Linked DNA regions of Homo sapiens: region 2 is linked to region 1. Evidence: promoter capture Hi-C in human tissues and cell types (Jung and others, 2019). All regions are on one chromosome and are shown on one strand. The core of a region is centred on a gene start or on the middle of the fragment in contact, and the rest is flanking DNA. Distances in the headings are between cores, read along the strand shown. Region 1 holds the start of NOB1 (NIN1 (RPN12) binding protein 1 homolog). Region 2 overlaps WWP2 (WW domain containing E3 ubiquitin protein ligase 2).

What was found. Contacts are between HindIII fragments. The study calls those that stand out against the background at their distance.
Region 2: a fragment that was not itself captured here is called in contact with the fragment with the promoter of NOB1 in region 1 in 1 of the 25 tissues and cell types used here (mesendoderm cells).

The regions. Positions count from the first base shown.
Region 1 is chr16:69,752,378-69,757,975 of GRCh38, forward strand. It overlaps NOB1 (NIN1 (RPN12) binding protein 1 homolog), which reads right to left and starts at 2,549. Exons shown (of 9, transcript NM_014062.3): 1 at 2,471-2,549; 2 at 2,217-2,349. The coding sequence starts at 2,533. It also overlaps the pseudogene NONOP1. RefSeq lists enhancers at 1,595-2,218, 2,219-2,841. The HindIII fragment of the contact is 4,198 bases long and covers 494-4,691 here.
Region 2 is chr16:69,804,317-69,809,914 of GRCh38, forward strand. The region is part of intron 4 of WWP2 (WW domain containing E3 ubiquitin protein ligase 2); the gene reads left to right. Among named protein-coding and RNA genes, the nearest start is that of WWP2, 45 kb to the left of the region's middle. The HindIII fragment of the contact is 3,377 bases long and covers 551-3,927 here.

The DNA.
Region 1 (5,598 bases), core at 1,299-3,798:
ACAACAGATTTACATCTTCAGTTAGAGGTAAAAAGCCATATGACCTTGGATAACCAATGGAAGTATCAAAACAATTTAGAACAGATCAAAATAATGGAAGTATCAAAACAATTTAGAAAGGATCACTATGTCATGAAAAACCTTAACACTTTCATCCATTTTCTGACCTTTTCCTACTCGCAGTTGAGAAATTTGTATTCTCCACCACCAAGATTCATGCCAGTTAGATTTACTGTAACACCCTTATCAAATACAGAGGAAGGAGCAGAAAGTTGGCTGGGGCCAGGCGTGGTGGCTCACGCCTGTAATCCCAACACTTTGGGAGGCAGAGGTGGGCGGATCACTTGAGGTCAGGAGACCAGCCTGGCCAACGTGGTGAAACCTGTCTCTAATAAATATACAAAAATTATCCCGGTGTGGTAGCGGGGGGGCCTGTAATCCCAGCTACTCAGGAGGCGGAGGCAGGAGAATTGTTTGAACCTGGGAGGCGGAGGTTGCAGTGAGTCAAGATTGCGCCACTGCACTCCAGCCTGGGCGACAGAGTGAGACTCCTTCTCAAAAAAAAGAAGAAAGTTGGGGCGTGGTGGCTCACACCTCACTACAGGAGGCTGAGGTGGGTAGATCACTTGAGGTCAGGAGTTCCAGACCAGCCTGGCCAACATGGTGAAACCCCTTGTCTCCTAAAAATACAAAAGTTAGCCAGGTGTGGTGGCGTGTGCCTGTAGTCCCAGCTACTGGGGAGGCTGAGGCAGAAGAATTGCTGGAACCCAGGAGGTGGAGGCTGCAGTGAGCCAAGATCGTGCCACTGCACTCCAGGCTAGGCAACACAGCCAGACTCCATCTCAAAAAAAAAAAAGTTTCAGATTTAGGAGCATTCTGGATTTCAGATTCAGTATGCTCAACTTGTAATTGTAGTAGTCTATGAGGAAACAAAAAGCATGTGCTTAATGCATAATACATGTCAGACTGCTGTTATTCTCCAGAGTCATCCATAATAAACACTTAAAATTTCCTGAAATTAACAGAAAGATGTCTCCTGCTACCCTGGTACAAGGAACACTAGGTATATTGCTCTTATTTCCTAAAAAACAGACATTAGCAGCAACGAAAATTTACTGTGCACTTACTGTGTACTAGGCACTGCATTAAAAGCTTTATGTGTTAATGCATTTCATCCTTTGCCATTCTTCAAAAGTACTATTAGTATTTCCTCGGAAAGATTTAGTAAGTTGGCAAAGATCACAGAGCTACTAAGTTGGTGGAGAAAATCGTAGAAATCACAAACAGAGGAGGTAACATCATCTCCACTATCAGCCTCTAACCTCTAAAACACTTCCAACCACTGAGGGGCCTTTCCTGGGTATCACCTTGATTCCCAACAAGAGAACAACGCTGACTCCTAAGCCAAGAGACAATTCTTTAATTTTCTTTATTTCTTATTTTTTTTGAGACAGAGTCTCGCTCTGTCGCCCAGGCTGGAGTGCAGTGGTACGATCTCGGCTCACTGCAACCTCCACCTCCAGGTTCAAGCAATTCTCCTGCCTCAGCCTCCCAAGTAGCTGGGATTACAGGAGCACACCACCACGCCCAGCTAATTTTGTATTTTTAGTAGAGGCAGGGTTTCACCATGTTGGTCAGGCTGGTCTCAAACTCCTGACCTCAGGTGATGCGCCCGCCTCGGTCTCCCAGTGCTGGGATTACAGGCCGTAAGCCACCGCGCCCAGCTTAATTTTCTTTCACATTTAATACAATGCAAAGCATTCCCTTTTTAAAGCTCTGCCAGGTGCAGATCTTTGTATCCAGTCATCAGCCCAATCTACTGAAAAGAAATGGACGAGAGTAATAGCAAGAGATCCAAACTCTTATTTTAAATCCAAATAAATTTATTGCTTGTCTGCAAAGTGCTTGACACTGAGCTGACTGCCATATTCCTCAGTTCATGCTCACAGCAACCTTGGAGACAGATACAATTATTATTCCCATTTTGCGGATGAGGTAAACGAGGCCCAAATTTGAATGCTATGCCCGAGAGCATACAGCTAGTTACTGGAGGACTCCAGACCCAGGAAGCCTCTCTCCTACCACAATCTCCTAGAAAGTGCTGGCTCTAAATCTACTGCTCTGATAAGGCAGCTAGACCCCAACTCGCACCCAACTGGGTGCCATCTGCGCCCTGGACCCCAGCTTCCCGTCAACGCTAGGGCAGAGGCACTCACCCAGCCGCACGTATTCCGGTAAGGGCTCCTTGAACCGCAGCTCGTAGGGCAGGACAGCGAGCCGCCTGCGTGTGGCCTTGTCCCGAATCTCAGTGACCACCTCCCGGATGGTGTAAATGTTCTTCCCGATGTCCTGCGGACAGAACGCCCCAGCTCAGACCCACCCGCACCAAGCAACGCTCCGCGCGACTCCACGCACTCCGGGAGGGGCGGCCAGCCCAGATCTCTCTCGTCCCGGAGGGAGCTCCCCGTACCTGCAGAGCCGCATGCCGCAGGAAAGCCCCAGCATCCGCCACAACGTGCTCCACTGGAGCCATGTTGGCTGCGTGAGAGGGGAGCGCGCATGCGCACGGAGCTTGCGCCGGCTCCTATGTCCAAGTCTGGGCCTCTGGGAACCAGGAAGAGCAGCCGCGACTTAGCTGCGCCTCCTGGCGGCCGCGCCAGCACCTCCCTGCTCTACTCGCGCGCATGCGCAGCGACGCCGCCCGCATAGCCAGAGAAGTGTGGGCGGGGTCAAACCTTGGGGGACACCTGGGAAATCGGCTTCAGCATCTAGACCTTAGTGCCTTCTTCACCTTTGAAGATAAAACCTGCCAGGTGTAGTGGTGCGCGCCTAGAGTCCCAGCTATTAAGGAGGCTGAGGCGAAAGGATTGCCTGAGCCCTGGAATGTGAAACCAGCCTGGGCAACATAGAGAGACCCCCATCTCTTCAATAAATAAATAAATTTAAAACCTGTATATATTCTTATGGTTAAAAGTCAATCAATACAGATTACCTAATTTCGTTATCACAGCACCCCTATGAGATAGGTACTGTTTTTTTTTAAAGGCTTAAAATGTATTTTAATAGGTCGATGCTGCATTACTGCTCCAGTTCTCAGAAAAACTCCAAATATATCAGAGACAAATCAAATACAATACACCAATGGAAAAAAAAGGCACAGCATGACTACCTAAGATAGGCGAGTCTAAGAGCTACTGTCAGACCTTCAGTATACAGTAACCCTGTTCCCAAGATTGTACTAGGCCTATCAAGAAAAGCTGTGAACAGCAGTATCATAGACACAAAAGGGTCATTCCTGGGTGTCCTCACCCAAGAAAAAGATGGAGGCAAGTTAACACAAGATTTTTTTTTAAAGATATACTAAAATGAAAATCTCTAAGAGAAAATGTCTTCTTTAGGACATGAAGGGGTAATATATGGGATATAATAGAACCGTATGTACGTTGCCTGTGACCTTTGTGGACGTTTACCTGAATTCTCACCTGGGAGTGAATGGAGCAATGCGGCTAAGGTCATTGGGGGATGTTTGGTTTTTGTGGTGTATGTGGCAGTTTCTCTGGGACTGGGGGAGTGTAAGGATAAGAAAGCAAGTGAGGTTGGGCACGGTGGCTCACCCCTGTAATCCCAGCATTTTGGGAGGCTGAGGCAGGGGATCACGAGGTCAGGAGTTCAAGATCAGCCTGGACAAGCTTGAACCCGAGAGGCAGAGATTGCAGTGAGCCGAGATCGTGCCACTACACTCCAGCCTGGGCGACAGAGTAAGACTCCATCTCGGGGGCAGGGCAAGCAAATGAAACAAGATGGACAAAAAAAAAAAAAAAAAAAAACAACAAACAAACCAAAAAAACAGAATGATCAAGATTAATGGGCTCTAACTGGATCTACTTTGCCATGGTTTCCCCAGGCCCTCAACAATCACATTTGAGACTTCAGGAATGCACCACACAGAACTGATTAAATAATATACTACATAGAATTGACTTGTTTAATACCACCCCTCCCTTGTCCTCTGCCTCCAGCATACTCCCTAGAGTAGTACAGGCAGGGTAGATCTAACTATTGGAAGGAATCCCTAACACTTTTCCAGGGTAGAATTCTGGCTGGTCCAAAAAGGGTCCTTCTTTTAAGGGTTTTGAGAAACTAGACACTGCAACTTATTAGTATCGGCGACGTTTGTTTGGAGCAAATTCAGCTCCAGGAGCTGCATGGTTGAATGCAGGAGGAGTTTCACCAATTGCCCCAATTCCTTCCATTGTAGCAGCCTGACCAAAGCGTTCAGTTGTTGGTGGGGTCAATCCCAAAGTTCCATCCGGCATCATAGTGGCAGGTCCTGGAGGAGCTGGGGTACCAGCTGGCACAGGAGCAGGGGTCAAGGCACCTCTGCTGTTTATGCCCATAGCACCTCCCATAGCCATCTGACCCATCCAAATCTCCTGCTCTCTCACATCAGGGAAGGTTCCCTTGAATCCTTCCTGCTGTGGCTGCATCATTTCTTCTTGCTGCCGCCGCATCTCTTCTTCAGGGCGCCTGCGCTCTTCCTCCTGCCTGAGCTCCAGTTGCTTTCGTTTTTGCACCTCTTGGTTGTGCAGCTCTTCCATCCTCCGAAGTTCTTCTTGGCGCCTCATCAAATTCTGTCTCATTAGCATGACCTGGTGCTTATGGCGTGCAGCCTCCATCTCCATCTCTGGCTTCTCACGAGCCTCTTTGATGTTGCGGTCCACTTGGTCCTGCTGCTGCTTCTCCATCTCAATGAGTGCCTTCCAGCGCATGGCATATTCATACTCAAAGGAGCCAGGCTGTGCAAATCTGGGTGGTTGCTCTCGTTCCTTGTGAAATTGCTGGTTTTTTATAACCAGCTTCTCTGGAAGTCCCCCTTCATCATCTAACTGGTCCATGGGCTCCATAGTCACAGGACGAGGAAATGTGGTTAGCAGGAAGGAGCCTTCACTGCGTCTGTCCAGAGCTTTCCCAGCAGCTGGCTTCCCTGAGAACTCAACAATGCCTTTTCCTGAGGGCCTTCCTCGATCATCCACAATGACTACAGCCCTCTCTACCTGGCCAAACACAGAAAAGGCTTCTTCCAGCACTTCGTTGGACACATACTGAGGAAGGTTTCGAACTGTAAGGGATGCACTATGGCAGGAAAAGCGCACACGCAGCTGCTTTCCACAGAGTGGCATATTGTCCAGCTCCACTTTCGCAATCTCCGCTAGGGTTCGTGTTTCCAAGCGGATAAAGCCAAATCCTTAATCCTTATGAATGAAGACTTCGCCTGCCTTTCCATATTTCTCAAATAGTTTCCTCATTTCTTCCTCAGTGATGTCGGGAGGAAGATTTCCCACAAAAAGACGGCTTCGTTGGGTGAAGGTCTTCTCTCCTGGTTTTCTAAAATTCTTCAGGCCAAATAGTCAAAGCCTTCATTTTGGCTGCTGGCCTGTTGCCCATTTGCAGGTATTGGCGGTGGTGGCGGCTGCAGCTGTTGCTGCTGGTGGTGATGTTGATGATGCTTTCTTGGAGTATGGTTTTGCTTCTCCAAGTTAAAAGTTTTATTACTCTGCATTTTTGCACCCTCAACTTCGATTGAAGACAGCAAAGTGC
Region 2 (5,598 bases), core at 989-3,488, 52 kb after region 1:
TTATGATTTTATTTTTTCACATTTAATTCTGCATCCACATGAGTTTATTTTTGTGCCCAGTACAAATAGGGATCTAATTCATTTTTTTCCCTAATATGTAGCTGATTGGTTTAGCACTACTTATTGAATAATCCATCTGTTTCCCCAATGACTTGAGTTGCTTCAGCTTATATTAAAAACATATGTGTATTTGGGCCTGCTTAGGGACTTTCCATTGAATCCATCGTTTTATTAGCCTTTCCAAATCACTCTGTCTATGCTATTGTAAAATTATGTTTTAATATCTGGCAGTTAAGTTTCTCTTTTTTTTCAAAGTCTTCATGCTTCTTTTCTTTGCATATATCACATCACTAGATGAACCTTAACAGTTTCATCAGATTCTCTCCTCTTCCTACTCCCCATGCCCCCTAAAAAATCTCTTGAGATTTTATGGAGTCCTGTCATATGTAAAGTTAACGTAATGGGGAATTTTCATACTGAACTCCCCACATAGGAACATGGAATGTTTCTAAATTAATTCAAATAATTTTGAAGTTATCTTTAAATAGATTCCACTTTAAATTTTAAAAACCTTTGGTATTATTTTCAGTGGGATCTTTTCTTATTCTGTCTTCTAACTCAGTATTGTTGGTAAATGGCTGTTTCTGCATTTTCTTTTGTAATCTGTCAGTTTACTGAGTCCTTTAGTATAGGTTTGCAGTAGTTTCTTTTGAGTTTGCTTGGTAGACTTTTTTTTTTTTTGAGATGGAGTCTCACTCTGTCACCCAGGCTGGAGTACAGTGGCATGATCTTGGCTCACTGCAATCTCCACCTCCTGGGTTCAAGCGATTCTCGTGCCTCAGACTACTGAGTAGCTGGGATTACAGGCGCCCAACACCATGCCTAATTTTTGTATTTTTGGTAGAGACGGGGTTTCATCATTAAGGCCAGGCTGGTCTCAAACTCCTGACCTCAGGCGATTTGCCTGCCTCGGCCTCCCAAAGTGCTGGGATTACAGACGTGAGTCACTGCGCCCAGCCTGCTTGGTAGACTTTTATGTGGGTTGTGACACTGATAATTTTGTTAATCCTAAGAGATAATTATATTTCTATTTTGTGTTAGTTGCTTTGCATAAAACTTTCTGTTTTAGTGGTGATAGAGAAATGCCCTCTAGTAAATAACTTCTAGGTGTAAGGCTGGGTATTAGTAACCTTTTTGCTTTCTTCTTCTTTTTTTATTTTATTTTTTGGCACCTTTCTGACTGGGAATCTTTTTGATTTATTAATCATTGCAGGTTAAAAAAAAAGTCAGGAAGGATGTTGAGTTTTTTTTTGAGACAGGATCTTGCTTTGTTGCCCAGGCTGGAGTGCAGTGGCATGATTACCACTCACTGTGGCCTCTACCTCCCAGGCTCAAGCAATCCTCCCATCTCAGTCTCTGGAGTAGCTGGGACTATAGGTGTGTTACTAATTTAATTTTTTTTCTTTTTTTTTTTTTTTAGAGATGGTATCTCACTATGTTGCCCAGGTTGGGTGTTGACTTTGTATCAAATATCTATTAAGCAGCCATTGGAATGATTATATGATTTTTCTTCTTTAAATTACTATATTAATTTCTACAACTGGGCACAGTGGCTCATACCTGTAATCTCAGCACTTTGAGAGGCTGAAGCAGAAGGATCACTTGAGGCCAGTAGTTTGAGACCAGACAGGGAAACATAGCAAGACCCTGTCTCTACTAAAAATTAAAAAAAAAATTAGCCAGGTGTGATGGTGTACGCCTGTAGTCCCACCTACTTGGGTGACTGAGGCAGGAGGATCACTTGAGTCCAGGATTCTGAGGCTGCAGTGAGCTATGATTGTGCCAGTGCACTCTAGGCTGGACAGCAGAGTGAGACCCTGTCTCTAGAAAAGATTTTTAAAAATCTATTATATGAATTTCCTAATAGTAATTATCTTAGAATTTCTAGAATATACCTAGTTGCTCAAGATAGACTATTCCTTGAAAATTTTGTTAGAATTGTTTGTTAATATTTTATATTGGGGTTTTCCATCTATATTCGTTAGTGGTAATTTGTCTGTAGCTTTGGTCTATTTTTGTCAGCTTTGGAATCAAGGCCAAGCTAATTTTATAAAGTAAATTGATGTGCTTTCCAACTTTGGGAACAGTCTCTATAACATGGGAATTATCTGTTCCATGAGTGCAGCAAAGAGCTCACCCATAAAACCAACTGGGTCTGGCATCTTGCTTTGAAATAATTCTTTGATGACTTTTTTTTTCAGTTTTCCCCCCCATAATTACTGGTTTGTTCAGCTTCTTTGTTTCGTCTTGACTCAATTTTGTTAACTCATTTTTTTCTGAGAAAATCGGTTCATGAGATTTTCAAATTTATTAGAATAAGGGTTTTAAATATCATTCTCAGTTTAAAAACGTCTGTAATATTTTTTACTTTAAATTTTTGCTATTTGTGTGTTTCCCCAGTTTTTTTCTTGACTAACTTAAACATTTTTGTTTTTCATTTTTGCTTTTAAATTTACTTTTCATAGAACAACTTCTTGGATTTGTCAGATACCATATTTTGTAATATTAATTTCTGTCTTTAGCTTTATTAACTTTTCTACTATTTGCCCTAGATCTGTTTTATTTATTTATTTATTTATTCATTCATTCATTCATTCATTCATTCATTCATTCATTTATAGCTTTTCAGGTTGAAAGCTTACTGCATTTATCTTTGTCTTTTTTTTTTTGAGATGGAGTTTATCTCTTTTTGCCCAGGATGGAGTGCAATGGCATGATCTTGGCTCACTGCAACCTCTGCCTCCTGGTTTCAAGTGATTCTCCTGCCTTAGCCTCCCAAATAGCTGGTAGCTGGGGTTACAGGCACACGTCACCATGCCCGGCTAATTTTGTATTTTTAGTAGAGATGGGGTTTCACCATGTTGGCTGGGCTAATCTTGAACTCCTGACCTCAGGTGATCCACCTGCCTCAGTCTCCCATACTGCCGGGATTACAGGCGTGAGCCACCGTGCCTGGCCTATCCTTGTCTATTTTTGTTTAATAATGAAAACATGTTTGCTTTGTACTTGTCTTTGAATTTTCACCCCTGGATATTGAATTTTTTTTCTTTCAATGTAGCATTGAAAACTCATCTCTACAAAGATTTAAAAAAATTAGCTAGGTGTGGTGGTGTGTGCCTCTGGTCCCAGCTACTCGGGAGGCTGAGTCGGGAGGATTGCTTGAGCCCAGGAGGCTGAGGCTGCAGCGAGTTGTTATTGTGATACTCCACTCCTGCCTGGGTGACAGAGCAAGACCCTTTCTCCAAAAAAAAAAAAAAAAAAAAAAAAAGAAAAGAAAAAGGAAAATGAAAGGGCAGCCAGGTGCAGTAGCTTATGTCTGTAATCCTAGCACTTTGGGAGGCTGAGGTGGTAGGATTGCTTGAGCTCAGGAATTTGAGACCAGTCTGGGCAACATAGTGAGACCCTGTTTCTACAAAAAAGAAATTTAAAAAAATTAGCCAGGTGTGGTGTTGCACACCTGTAGTCCCAGCTACTTGAGAGGCAGTGGTGGGAGGATTGCTTCAGTCTGGGAGATAGAGGCTGCAGTAAGCTGTAATCATGCTGCACTCCAGCCTGGGTGACAGAGCAAAACCCTATCTCAAACAAACAAACAAAACAAAAAACATTCTTAGTGTTACAACTTGAATATGTACATGTGTCCACAGCTGCGTAATCATCACCCACATCAAGACATAGCATATTTCTAGCATCCCCAGAAGTTTCCCATTGTCCCTTCTAGTTAATTTCTCCTCCCTGAAATAACCACTATTCTGACTTCTATCACTATTGTTCAGCTTTGCCTAGTATTGAATTTCATATTAGTGAGAACATGCAGTATGTTTTCTTGTGCCTGGCTTTTCATTTTATATCTTTGAGATTAAAGATATATGACCTTTTTTTGCATGTGTCAATAGTCTTTTTTTTTTTTAATAGAGATGGGATCTCGCTATATTGCCCAGGCTGGTCTCAAGTGATCCTCCCACTTTGGTCTCCAAAAATGCTGGGATTACAGGCATGAGCCACCATGCCTGGCCTGTCTTTTATTTTTATTTTTATTTTTTTTGAGATGGAGTTTCACTCTTGTCGCCCAGGCTGGGGTGCAATGGTGCAATCTTGGCTCACTGCAACCTCCACCTCCCAGGTTCAAGCAGTTCTCCTGCTTCAGCCTCCTGAATAGTTGACATTACAGGCACCTGCCACCATGCGTGGCTAATTTTTGTATTTTCAGCAGAGACAGGGTTTCGCCATGTTGGCCAGGCTGGTCTTGAACTCCTGACCTCAGGTGGTCTGCCTGCCTCGGCCTCCCAAAGTGTTGGGATTACAGGCGTGAGCCACTGCGCCCGGCCATGGCCTGTCTTTGTATTTGGGTGTAGTGTTCTGTTTTATGAATACACCATAATTTATTTCTCCATTCTCCTATTGGTAGACATTTGAGTTGTTTCCAGTTTTTGGCCATCATGAACAACGCTGACATAAACACTCTCAGGACATGTATTTTGAAGGACACACACATACATTTCTATTGCGTATGTACAGATCTAGGAGCTTTGGTTCATAGGGTGGATGTATGCTTACCTTTAGTAGACACCATCAGTTTTCTAGTGTTGTACCAATTTGCCATCCCATAAATTTTACTGTGCTCTGATCGTTTGTAATTACTGTTGTGATTTTATCTTCAAACCCAGAGTTATTTAAGTGGATGTTTTCCAGTGGTTATATTGTTTGTGGTATTGGTTGTAGCTATTGCTGCTGTTGCTGGCACCAGCCGTAGCACGTTGTGCATGTGGCTGGGTTGGGTAGCAGGCAAATCAGATCAGAGTCTGTTGGAAAATGTGGATTGCAACAGGGCAGTGGGCTTTTTCTTAGAAAAACAAATCTTCTAGGATGACAATGGCGTACGTAGCCTATGTACCTAACATTCCAGCCATGTTTCATAAAGTCTTCTATTTAGAGCCAGGTTATTTCTGGTAATTGCAAATCTTCCCAAAGATGGGGAGGTTTGAATCTCAGAGATGGACCACAGAGACCCTGTTTCCGGATGCGAGACTGTCTTGCCTAAAGGGAAGGCAGTCCTGAGGTTGTTTCAGGAGGGAATTCTAGGATGAGACAAATGCAGAAGCTTTGAGGGTGGCCAGGTACGGTGGCTCACGCCTGTAATCCCAGCACTTTGGGAGGCCAAGGTGGGTGTATCACCTGAGGTCAGGAGTTCGAGACCAGCCTGACCAACATGGTGGAACCCTGTCTCTACTAAAAATACAAAAAATTAGCTGGACGTGGTGGTGTGTATTTGTAATCTCAGCTACTCGGGAGGCTGAGGCAGGAGAATCACTTGAACCCAGGAGGCAGAGGTTGCAGTGAGCCGAGATTGCGCCATTGGATGCCAGCCTGGGTGACAAGAGTGAAACTCCGTCAGAAAGAGAAAGAGAGAGAGAGACAGAGAGAGAGAGAGAGAGATAGGAAGGAAGGAAGGGGAGAGAGAGAAAAAGAAAAAAGAAAGAAGGAAAGAAAAGGAAAAAGCTTTGAGGGTGTGGAGTGGGGAAGCTGTCGTTAACATGGGAC